Linked DNA regions of Homo sapiens: all the other regions are linked to region 2. The links are contacts of gene promoters, found by promoter capture Hi-C in blood cells and fetal thymus (Javierre and others, 2016). All regions are on one chromosome and are shown on one strand. The core of a region is centred on a gene start or on the middle of the fragment in contact, and the rest is flanking DNA. Distances in the headings are between cores, read along the strand shown.

Region 1 (2,700 bases), core at 133-2,632, 1.2 Mb after region 2:
TCACCATGTCATCTATAGGCACTTTTTCTACGGTGTTAACATCATCTTCATCATCACTATTATCATAATCACCTTGATTAAGAACCATTTTGGCTATTTCCCCATGGATCAATGAATGAATAATTAGAGCCGCATTATTGCTGGTAAAAACTTACATGACATCTGTTTCTTCCATCTTACTGCCAGACTCTGAAGGTGTATTTTTTTGTATATGTATGGAGGTCAGACATTATTTTTTTTCTCATGTGACATATAGAAACCTTCAAAGTCACCACTTTGTTCATCACCATCACTGAACATAGTTATAGCCCAGAGGTTGTGCCAGGCATGCACAACTGTGTATTTGTCACTGTATTCCAAACATGGGCATTCTTCGTGCTAAACTCCTTTTGAAAACTTTCCACACTCATGCCTCTGTTCACTGTTGCTAGCATGCTGATCAAGAAACTTTTTATATTTATTCTTTATTGATCCAAGAACACCCTAGTCACATGGATGAATTAATGAAGTCACAATTAGGGTAAAATACATGACCTAAACATTTTTAATGAGAATTTCTGCTGGATGATGAGCAGAATCCTTATCAAGCAGTGCCAAAATCTTGCAGTCGTTAATCATTCAGTCTAGATTCCCTACAGCAAGCAAGAGCCACTAGTACCAAATGTTTGTGAAACCAATCAGAAAAGATATCCCTAATTCTCTATGCCTTTTTGTTAGCATAATAATTTACTGGAAAGAAATTTACTCCTTGAAAACAACAAGGATATAAGCTTTTGTCTATCATAGCAAGGTTTTCTTTATGCATGCGTGCTGCATTAGCACATCCCAGAACAGTTATTCTGTCCTTAGCATCCTTAATTCCTATTGAAGCTGTCTCACCAGCTGTAGTCAGTGTTTTTCTGGTGCAATAATGCCGAAACAGTGATGTTTCATCAGCATTACAGACCTGTCCTGGTATCAGATTTTCATCAGTGATGACCTTAGTAACCTCATCAGTGAATATCTCCCTTGCTTCATGATCAGGAAATGGTACAAATCTTCAAAACCTTAACGCTGTGCTTTTTCTTAAATTTATGCAACTAGCCTGTTGAATGTTCACAGTTCCCTTCAATTTTCAGTTCATCGTGATAGATCTTTGCAAGTTTCATGTTCAGCATACCATTAAGTGGCATGTATTCACTGTGACACTGATGGTTCCATTCTTTCAATACATATTCAAGGACTTCATATTTCACTCCATGCATTGCTTTTCTATTTTTCATTAACTTCTGTTCATCACTTTCAGCATAGAACTTCCAACAATGTATCCTTCTCTTTCTTCAGGTCATACATGGTGGTCACTCCAACACTATACTCTTCTATAAGACATTTTCCACTTATACCACCATCCAGTTTCTTCAACAGCTTGACTTTCTGTGCTATAGATAAGTATAAATGCTTCCTCTTTTCTTTACTACTGTTACTCATAAGGGTATCTGCAGATCTTTCTACATTTTCCACAATACCTTTATACCACAGAGAAGAGAATAAGCAAAACAAAACAACATAATGAGTAAGGCATGTAGGTCTTGGCCTCATGTAGGGCATCACAGGCAACCCGCCATTGGTGTGTCTTGCCTGACATGTGCCATTTTATTACCCTTTGTGGATGTGCCTGCATGACGAAGTCTGGGGCATGTGTGGAAAAGATACTTCACAGCTGAAGGGGGCTGGGAGGGTCTCTTTGGAGACATTAAGTAAACTGTGTGTTGTGTATCTGCATTTTGACTGTGATCCATCATATGAGGTCAGGTGTGGAATTTTCAACTTGTGACTTCGTGTCAGCACTCAAAAAGTTTTGGATTTGGGGGAATTTCAGTTTTGGATTTTCAGATTAGGGATGGTTAAGATGTAATTTCATTATGAGTAAATAGATTAAATACTCCAACCAAAAGGCAGAGATTGTCAGGCTGGATTTTGAAAAGCAAGATCCAACTATCTTCTGTCTACAAGAGACAAGCTTTTGCTTTTCCCTTTTTTTTTTTTTTTTTTTTTTTTTTTTTTTTTTTTTTTTTTTTTTTGAGTTGGAGTCTCACTCTGTCAGCCAGGCTGGAGTACAGTGTTGGGATCTTGGCTCCAAGCAACCTCCACCTCCTGGATTCAAGTGATTCTCCTGCCTTATCCTCCTAAGTAGCTGGGATTACAGGTGCCCACCACCATACTGGCTCATTTTTGTATTATTGATAGAGGCAGGGTTTCACCATGTTGGCCAGGCTGGTCTTGAGCTCCTGACCTCAGGTGATCCACTCACCTTGGCCTCCCAAAGTGCTGGGATTATAGGCATGAGCCACCACAGGTTGCCATGAGACAGACTTTAGATTCAAAAATTTAGTCTGAAAGTTAAAAGGATGGAAAATGATATATCATACAAACAGTAACCATTAAAGACCTGCAGTGAATACACTAATATTAGACAAAATACACTTTGAGACAAAAATAAATAAAATACTTGAGACAAAGAGTACATTTCATAATGATAAGGGGGTTAATTCAACAGGAAAATAGAAAAGTTATATATATACCTCAGATTTCCCCAAGTACATGGAGCAATAAATCACAGAACTAAAGAGAGATATAGACAATAATAATTGGAGACTTCAACACCCCAATCTCGATAATTGATGAACAACTAGATACAAAATTAGCAAGGATATGTTTTGT
Region 2 (2,854 bases), core at 355-2,854:
AGTCTATTATGGTGGAGCTAATAAGTTGCAAGTCCCTGGTACAAAGAGAACAAGAAACATAAAGGTATGGGGGGCTGTATAAAATGACAGAAAATGTTATTTCTGAGACTTGTGTGACATGCCACGGGTTCTCATTAGTCCACTCCTAGTGAGACACCCCTCCCCCACAAAAAGGGGACAAAGCATATTGTTCTGATTTATAGGGTAAATAAATCACAGGTTAGTTAAGTGTATGAAGTCAAATGGACTAGAATTCAAACCTGGGCCTTACTACCAGGCACATTACTTAACTACTTGATTCAGTATCCTCATCTGACAATACTGACCAATTTACAGGATTACTGTAAGATTAAACATGGTATTGCTTGAAAACCCAAAGCAGAATGCCTAACTCATAAAATGTTTGGTAAGTGGCAGCTGTTATTAGTAAGGATCACAGACGTATTTCTTTGCGAATTAGACTTAGAGCAAAAGCTTTAGAATCTATCTGCATTAGTAAGGCCTCCTTCTACAACTAAGGATTACTGATTATCAAACTAAAATGGTCCCTAAGGAACCAAGCGGAGCCCACCCTTTTCCTAATCCAAGGTTGCTTCTGTTTACTGCTCAAGCACCTTCTGGAAGCAGCAAGGCCCCCATGGGAGCAACTCTCACTGAATCCATTTGAAGGTTTTGTAGGTCTTACAACAAACCCTATTCAGCCTTGTATTAGGCATGTTACAGAACCAACGAATTCGGAGATGAAGTCAGGTCTTCCAGTTCAGCCTGCGAGGAAGACAGGTGATCCGAATCCTAAGAATGCAAAAGATGGGCCGGGTGTGGTGGCTCATGCCTGTAATCCCAGCGCTTTGGGAGGCCGAGGCAGGCAGATCACCTGAGGTCGGGAGGTTGAGACCAGACTGACCAACAACGGAGAAACCCCGTCTCTACTTAAAAATGCAAAGTTAGCCGTGCGTGGTGGCCCATGCCTGTATTCCCAGCTACTCGGGAGGCTGAGGCAGGAGAACCACTTGATCCCTGGAGGCGGAAGTTGCGGTGAGCGGAGATTGCGCCATTGCACACCAGCCCGGGCCACAAGAGCGAAACTCCGTCTCAAAAAAAAAAGCAAAAGATACTACCAAGCCCTGCGGAGCAAGGTACCTCACACTTCATGAGCGAGTTAAGATGGGTTTCACAATTTTTCAAGCAAGGAAACGGGCTCGGAGGTCTTGAACACCTGCTACCCAATAGCAGAACAGCTACTGGAACTAAAATCCTCTGATTTCAAATAACAGCCCCGCCCACTACCACTAAGTGAAGTCATCCACAACCACACACCGACCACTCTAAGCTTTTGTAAGATCGGCTCGCTTTGGGGAACAGGTCTTGAGAGAACATCCCTTTTAAGGTCAGAACAAAGGTATTTCATAGGTCCCAGGTCGTGTCCCGAGGGCGCCCACCCAAACATGAGCTGGAGCAAAAAGAAAGGGATGGGGGACTTGGAGTAGGCATAGGGGCGGCCCCTCCAAGCAGGGTGGCCTGGGACTCTTAAGGGTCAGCGAGAAGAGAACACACACTCCAGCTCCCGCTTTATTCGGTCAGATACTGACGGTTGGGATGCCTGACAAGGAATTTCCTTTCGCCACACTGAGAAATACCCGCAGCGGCCCACCCAGGCCTGACTTCCGGGTGGTGCGTGTGCTGCGTGTCGCGTCACGGCGTCACGTGGCCAGCGCGGGCTTGTGGCGCGAGCTTCTGAAACTAGGCGGCAGAGGCGGAGCCGCTGTGGCACTGCTGCGCCTCTGCTGCGCCTCGGGTGTCTTTTGCGGCGGTGGGTCGCCGCCGGGAGAAGCGTGAGGGGACAGATTTGTGACCGGCGCGGTTTTTGTCAGCTTACTCCGGCCAAAAAAGAACTGCACCTCTGGAGCGGGTTAGTGGTGGTGGTAGTGGGTTGGGACGAGCGCGTCTTCCGCAGTCCCAGTCCAGCGTGGCGGGGGAGCGCCTCACGCCCCGGGTCGCTGCCGCGGCTTCTTGCCCTTTTGTCTCTGCCAACCCCCACCCATGCCTGAGAGAAAGGTCCTTGCCCGAAGGCAGATTTTCGCCAAGCAAATTCGAGCCCCGCCCCTTCCCTGGGTCTCCATTTCCCGCCTCCGGCCCGGCCTTTGGGCTCCGCCTTCAGCTCAAGACTTAACTTCCCTCCCAGCTGTCCCAGATGACGCCATCTGAAATTTCTTGGAAACACGATCACTTTAACGGAATATTGCTGTTTTGGGGAAGTGTTTTACAGCTGCTGGGCACGCTGTATTTGCCTTACTTAAGCCCCTGGTAATTGCTGTATTCCGAAGACATGCTGATGGGAATTACCAGGCGGCGTTGGTCTCTAACTGGAGCCCTCTGTCCCCACTAGCCACGCGTCACTGGTTAGCGTGATTGAAACTAAATCGTATGAAAATCCTCTTCTCTAGTCGCACTAGCCACGTTTCGAGTGCTTAATGTGGCTAGTGGCACCGGTTTGGACAGCACAGCTGTAAAATGTTCCCATCCTCACAGTAAGCTGTTACCGTTCCAGGAGATGGGACTGAATTAGAATTCAAACAAATTTTCCAGCGCTTCTGAGTTTTACCTCAGTCACATAATAAGGAATGCATCCCTGTGTAAGTGCATTTTGGTCTTCTGTTTTGCAGACTTATTTACCAAGCATTGGAGGAATATCGTAGGTAAAAATGCCTATTGGATCCAAAGAGAGGCCAACATTTTTTGAAATTTTTAAGACACGCTGCAACAAAGCAGGTATTGACAAATTTTATATAACTTTATAAATTACACCGAGAAAGTGTTTTCTAAAAAATGCTTGCTAAAAACCCAGTACGTCACA
Region 3 (2,758 bases), core at 44-2,543, 1.2 Mb after region 2:
GGAATTATTTCAAGAACACAATCCAAGCAATAGGGACAGTCATTACCACTGTGTTGGTCATTGTTTCTAGGTGTTTTCAACAGACATAGAGATAGAAAGGGAGAGAAGAGAGTGGTGAGAGAGAGAAACCTCATGAGTTCATATCCAATACTTCCAGTTTGAATGTAAGACTACAGGACTTTTACTTAGTCTCTAATCTATTACATCTGTATCTTTTTTCTTCCAAACTGAGAATCTTGGTTCTCAAGGACACAGACTATGACAGAATTATAATATTCCATAATTACTCATTTGTTTTTTATCTCATATTATACACTTAATAGTCTCAAAATAACAATCCTAATGCTACCACCAACAGAAGTACTGAAAACACTGTAAAAGGTTTTGCATGTGCTGTCCCCCCGTCCCCATCTTTTTAGTGATTATATACTATTTTCTCTTCCTCTTAGCCTTCATTTAGTCTTAGTTCTCCTACGAAGTCTCTATTGCAGCTCAGCACAGTCTATAGGCTGTCGTTCTGCTCACCTGTTACCTGAAGCTCATTTTCTAGCAGGCTCTTCAGGAAGATCTCATAGTCATTGTGCCCTTTTTGCTACAAAGTAAGTTTTTCTGGACACAAAGTGCTTGGCACATACTTTTTTCCCTTGAGAATCTTAATTATGTTACCTTATTTTCTTTTAGCCTAATGTATTGCTAATGAAAAAAACTGAAGTTTATCTAATTATGATCTCTTATAAATCATGTGCTCTTTTCCCCTCTAAATAGTCAAAGGATTTTTAAAAAATTAAAACCCAGTAATTGTGGTAGAGTGTCTTGATATTATAATTCTGGGTTGATCTTTTTAGGTGTATGGAGAACTCTCTCAATATGTAACTTCTAATCTTTTTTATTTCAGGAAAGTTTTCTTGAATAATAATTTTTAGCATTTCTTCTGGTCCCTGGATTTAGTTTTCTTCCTTTATGGCTGTGCTTGTAAGAAATTTTTCTATCTTGAAGTCTGAAAACATTCTGTTTATTTTTGTCAAAGTTGTAATGCTTTGACTTTTACTTGTATGCTATTAATATACCTGGGATACTGTGTGTACAAAATTCCTTTCATGAAAACAGGAGAGAAATTTATGTCATTTGGGTATAAAAAAGTTGTACTTCTGAGCAATTGTTTATTTATATCTCAAGTAATTATGAACTAATCTGATTCATACCTGGTGTCTGATTCCGACATGAGGAATCCAAAGGGTAGCAGTGGTCTTGTAAGATGATTACTGTATTTCCACACAAAACTGGGTCAAGGAAGTACAAGTGGTTCTTGTGGACCAGATGGGCACCTTCCAGGTGAAGAAATCAGCCACAAAATTTTTCCAAAGGGGCTGGGACAATGGGACCCCAACAGAAAGAACCCAGGTGAGGCAAACATATCAGTCACCCATGGCTAAATGTTGGCTTAAGTCCTAAGTGGCCAGTGGGAGAAAGGCCAATCCGAGAATTGTGTCACTGGAGATTCCAGGCAGAGGAACATAAAGAGGTACTTTTAGTGTCAATCAAAGCCCCAAGAATGCCAGTTCCAGATTGTCAGAGTAGTGACCATGTAAACCTGGGTCTTTTCCCCCAGTCCTTTCTACCTAGTAAGACCCTGGAGGATGAGACACTGTAGGTAGCAGACTGGGTGAGGAGCAATAGAGCAAGATATGAAAACAAAAGAGAAGCCAACCCCCACAGGCCTTTCTGCCCATAGCAGGTCTCAGCAGTGGGAAGCAGCTTTAAATTAGGTAAGATTATGAAGCTATGTGATTATAAATGGTCTGAAAGTTCTGAATATTTAAATGAAACTGTTCTTGTGCCAAAAGGTAACCAGAGGATGTTTTATTTTAAAATGATTGGAAATACTATGGCACCCACCTGATAAATCATTCAAAGTAGAGAAGAAATATTCCTTGCACATATTTGAAGGAACAACAGAAAGAAAAAACAAAGCTCTTTTTTTTTTGTTCACCCTATCAAGTTGTTTCCATTCAATAAAATTATTACATCTGGTAAGTAAGTGGATTTATGCTTATATAAACTGAAAAAGGCTAGGAAGTACATGGTAAGATCACATGCAAATTTAAACCAAAGCCTTTGCTTACAATTTCCTTGTATTTGATGTCAATAAAACTTTCAAACACCTGAGCACCTCTTCCATGGAGACTTCCCCAGCCACTCTGATCATGACTGTGAGGACTGGATATAAAGCTCTAGGCACATGTTCAGCCCTTAACAAATGCTGAGTGTTAATTATGCTCTTCTCTGCTCTCACAGCACACATCATCAGAAGGTGTTTTCCATTACATGAATGTGTCTCTTTTCTTCAATTACTCTCAAAGTTCCTAGAAATGAAGGACATATCTTATACTTACTTTATGTTCATCAGAATTCTGGTCAGAACGTTGTGCTTAGGACTTTTCAAAAGTAACTGACAACTGATCAATAAGTAGAGATAAGTGGAGTGATGGTATCACAATAGGAATGCTCTGGGGCAAGCAAGGAAAGCCTACTAGCAACCCTGAAATCACTCTTTTTGTTAGCTGGGTGTACTTTTCACTTTTTCTATACTCTCAGATTTCTCATCAATAGAATGTCTATTTTATGTCCTAGAGTCTCCTACCATAAAATACTAGGCCTTTACAAATTATATTATTTTGAGTTATCAGACTTTTAGAGTATCTTCTTTGGAATGGTATTCAAGCTCAGGGAGAGCCACATGAACTAACTGGATGATGCA
Region 4 (2,709 bases), core at 201-2,700, 1.4 Mb after region 2:
AAAGTCATTTAATGGATTTCAGCTCCAACACTGACTTATTTTAATAAACGAAATGCTAATTTGGGCCTCATGCATTCTTTTATATATTCAATTCATGAGGTTGGAAACATTGATCTTTATATTCCTGAGAAACAATTTAATTAGACCTGTAAATGGCTCTTAAAGTACAAATAATGAGAACCAACTATTTGGAAGTGACTTCAAGACTGGCTTGCAAAGAGTGTATAAGTTTCTATTTGATGGTGTAATTACCCATTTGCAAGAGTCACATACACAGGCCAAATCTCCTAATTGATTTACTTAGTAACATGTAACATTGAGGTCACATTACATTAGCAAGGGGAAATGGAAGGCAGAATTATTTACCTTGATACTATAAACGAGAATAAACAAATGATACTTCAATTATCTGATTCTTTCAAATGAGACATTTGAGGTATAAGAATCTGAATTGCATTGTTACTGAATTTCACATTGATACTAGACAGTCTCAGAGTCAGAAAGCCAACGTTTTACATAGAGACTTTAGAGACATTTTTGTCTGTGTAAGTAACTTTTATACAGCTCAATTTGCCAGTATGTGACTTATCTATTTATACATGGGCCAAGTACTTGACTAGTTTTTTAACTTTCCAGTTTTATAAAAATGAAAGTGAAAGAGTCCAAATACTATTTTCATAACTGTCAACTAATTCATAGTTACAGTAACCAGAAAATAGAATAGCGTGTAGGCATTGGACTGAACACAAGGACTTTATTGGATTTTCTTTACTATAATAATATTCCTGGACTTCCCAATTTCATGTGCTTGAAAAATTTAGAAAACATCTTGCTGTAAATCCATACTGCAGATTACTCAAAGGCTTGGGAATATGATTCAAGAGGAAATTCTTTAGATCTGGGATAATTCACTTCTATTTTTCAAGGGCTTTTGTTTTAAGGATACCTGGAAAATCATAAAATCAGATGGGATTTAAGAGTTATTTAATCTAGTGGTACCTATGCACCAGTCATTAGATCTGTGCTGGGCTGCCTGCCTACACATTTTTAGCTAATTTCCATGTCTTCAGACAAGAAAAATGTTTTCCAAGGAAAACAGTTCTTTTGGATTTTTTTTTAAGTGCAATTTCTGGGCCCTGCCCTAGATTTTCTGACTGAGCAAATTTATAGGCAAGGCCCTGGAATCTGTATTTTTTTAAAAAGCTTCCCCGGTGATTTTGAGATCCAGCCATTTGTGGAAACCCACTGATGTTAGTCCAATCTCTTTGTTTTCCAGATGCAAAATCTGAGGCCCACCTTGTCCCAGCTAAGCAAGTGAGGGAGAGGAATCCAGAGCCCTGACTTGTAATTCATTTTTTTTTTGTGTGCTTCTCATTCACTAGGCACATCTGCTGATCAAATCCTTCCCATACCCTCTGGATTCAGAACAAGAGGAAGTGCACATATGTCCACAACAATTTCCCAACACTAGGGAGTATTGATTTGCTGGGGGAGCAAGTGGCATCTCCCTCCCTGGAAAATTTTAAAACCAAAAGAAAAAGTTTAACTGGCTGATAATTTATAAATGAAATCCTCTCTGAAGATAGGAAGATGGGCTAGATAATGTTTTATCTCTTCTAGCCCTAACTTTCCATGCTCCTATAATTTAGTAACAAAAGGAACCCATGCACTTTCTTTTTTTTTAAGACAGTTTCTCCAGAAGCTTCCATGTGTGGAGAAACTTACTCTCTTCCTCCTTCTTCTATTTATCTTTTCTTATCTGAAAGGAGGACTACACTGTAAACATCTACATATGCAAAACCCATGCCTTTGGTACACACCTACCACTTTCAGATCAAACCGACAGCCTAAGTGGCCAGGCTGGCAGCTGGTTTAGGATAAATACAACAGCACCACCTTGTGTTGCGTTTCTGGGAGAATTTACCACTTCAGCAGGACAAAGACTTGGGCCGGGATGGGTGGCTCAGGATACAGCAACTATTCCTTTACTTTCCCTGCTGGGAGCAAATGCTAGCCATTTCGAAAAACCTTTTTGTTTGTTATCAGCCTACAATTTTCTTCTATAAATTCTGTAATTTTTAAAATATAAAAGGTAGCTGAGAAATGGAAATGCAGAAATAAACATATATTAATAAAAGCCTGGGTAAGCACAGTGCTATAGTAAATATTGTAGAGAAAAAGTTAATGTCAGCTTTTATTGCAAAAGACTTGATAGTAAATGTACATTTAATGCTATTGTGATTTAACACTTTCTCTAAAGATTCTCCCATATTTGGGGAGGTAGCTTTTAAACTATGTATTTGCCTATTAAGGGAAGAAAAGAATGTTTCACTTTCTCATAACCATTCTGGGTGAGCCTGGATAAAGTCTTTGTTTTCCCCAAGTATAGTTGTAGATTCACATATATAAATATATATAGATATATATGAATATATATATAATATTCATATTATACCTTGTATTCCCCAAGCATGGTTGTAGATTCATATACTATATGTGTACATATATAATATACATATGCACATATATATTTGCATCTTTGCTGTGGAGCAAGCTAAAAATTTAATATGTGAATATCAACATGGGACTGAAAGACCATAAAGACCAGAAAATCGACATATTTGCTAAACAAATATGTCAAATGTCTGATATTTTCAACAGAAAGAACATGACTAATTAAGGAAGATTATTTCCAGTTGTAATTTGAAA

What was found. Contacts are between HindIII fragments. The CHiCAGO score rates a contact against its expected background, and 5 or more counts as called.
Region 1: a fragment that was not itself captured here is called in contact with the fragment with the promoter of ZAR1L in region 2 in 4 of 17 cell types (total B cells, non-activated CD4 T cells, naive CD8 T cells and 1 more); the score reaches 9.3 in total B cells.
Region 3: a fragment that was not itself captured here is called in contact with the fragment with the promoter of ZAR1L in region 2 in 7 of 17 cell types (naive CD8 T cells, total CD4 T cells, non-activated CD4 T cells and 4 more); the score reaches 12.9 in naive CD8 T cells.
Region 4: a contact is called between a fragment that was not itself captured here and the fragment with the promoter of ZAR1L in region 2, in 1 of 17 cell types (non-activated CD4 T cells). The highest score is 5.3, in non-activated CD4 T cells.

The regions. Positions count from the first base shown.
Region 1 is chr13:33,549,557-33,552,256 of GRCh38, forward strand. It overlaps a transcript of STARD13 not described here. Among named protein-coding and RNA genes, the nearest start is that of LINC02344, 220 kb to the left of the region's middle. The HindIII fragment of the contact is 1,229 bases long and covers 769-1,997 here.
Region 2 is chr13:32,313,759-32,316,612 of GRCh38, forward strand. It overlaps ZAR1L (zygote arrest 1 like), which reads right to left and starts at 1,605. Exons shown (of 6, transcript NM_001136571.2): 1 at 1,557-1,605; 2 at 572-792. BRCA2 (BRCA2 DNA repair associated) reads left to right here and starts at 1,750. Exons shown (of 27, transcript NM_000059.4): 1 at 1,750-1,909; 2 at 2,664-2,769. The coding sequence starts at 2,703. RefSeq lists a silencer at 801-1,021, a cis regulatory region at 1,140-1,206, a promoter at 1,535-2,031 and an enhancer at 2,140-2,409. The HindIII fragment of the contact is 7,545 bases long and covers 1,329-2,854 here.
Region 3 is chr13:33,531,589-33,534,346 of GRCh38, forward strand. It overlaps a transcript of STARD13 not described here. Among named protein-coding and RNA genes, the nearest start is that of LINC02344, 200 kb to the left of the region's middle. The HindIII fragment of the contact is 7,063 bases long and covers 1-2,758 here.
Region 4 is chr13:33,722,132-33,724,840 of GRCh38, forward strand. No RefSeq gene overlaps it. Among named protein-coding and RNA genes, the nearest start is that of RFC3, 95 kb to the right of the region's middle. RefSeq lists a silencer at 1,814-1,983. The HindIII fragment of the contact is 499 bases long and covers 1,202-1,700 here.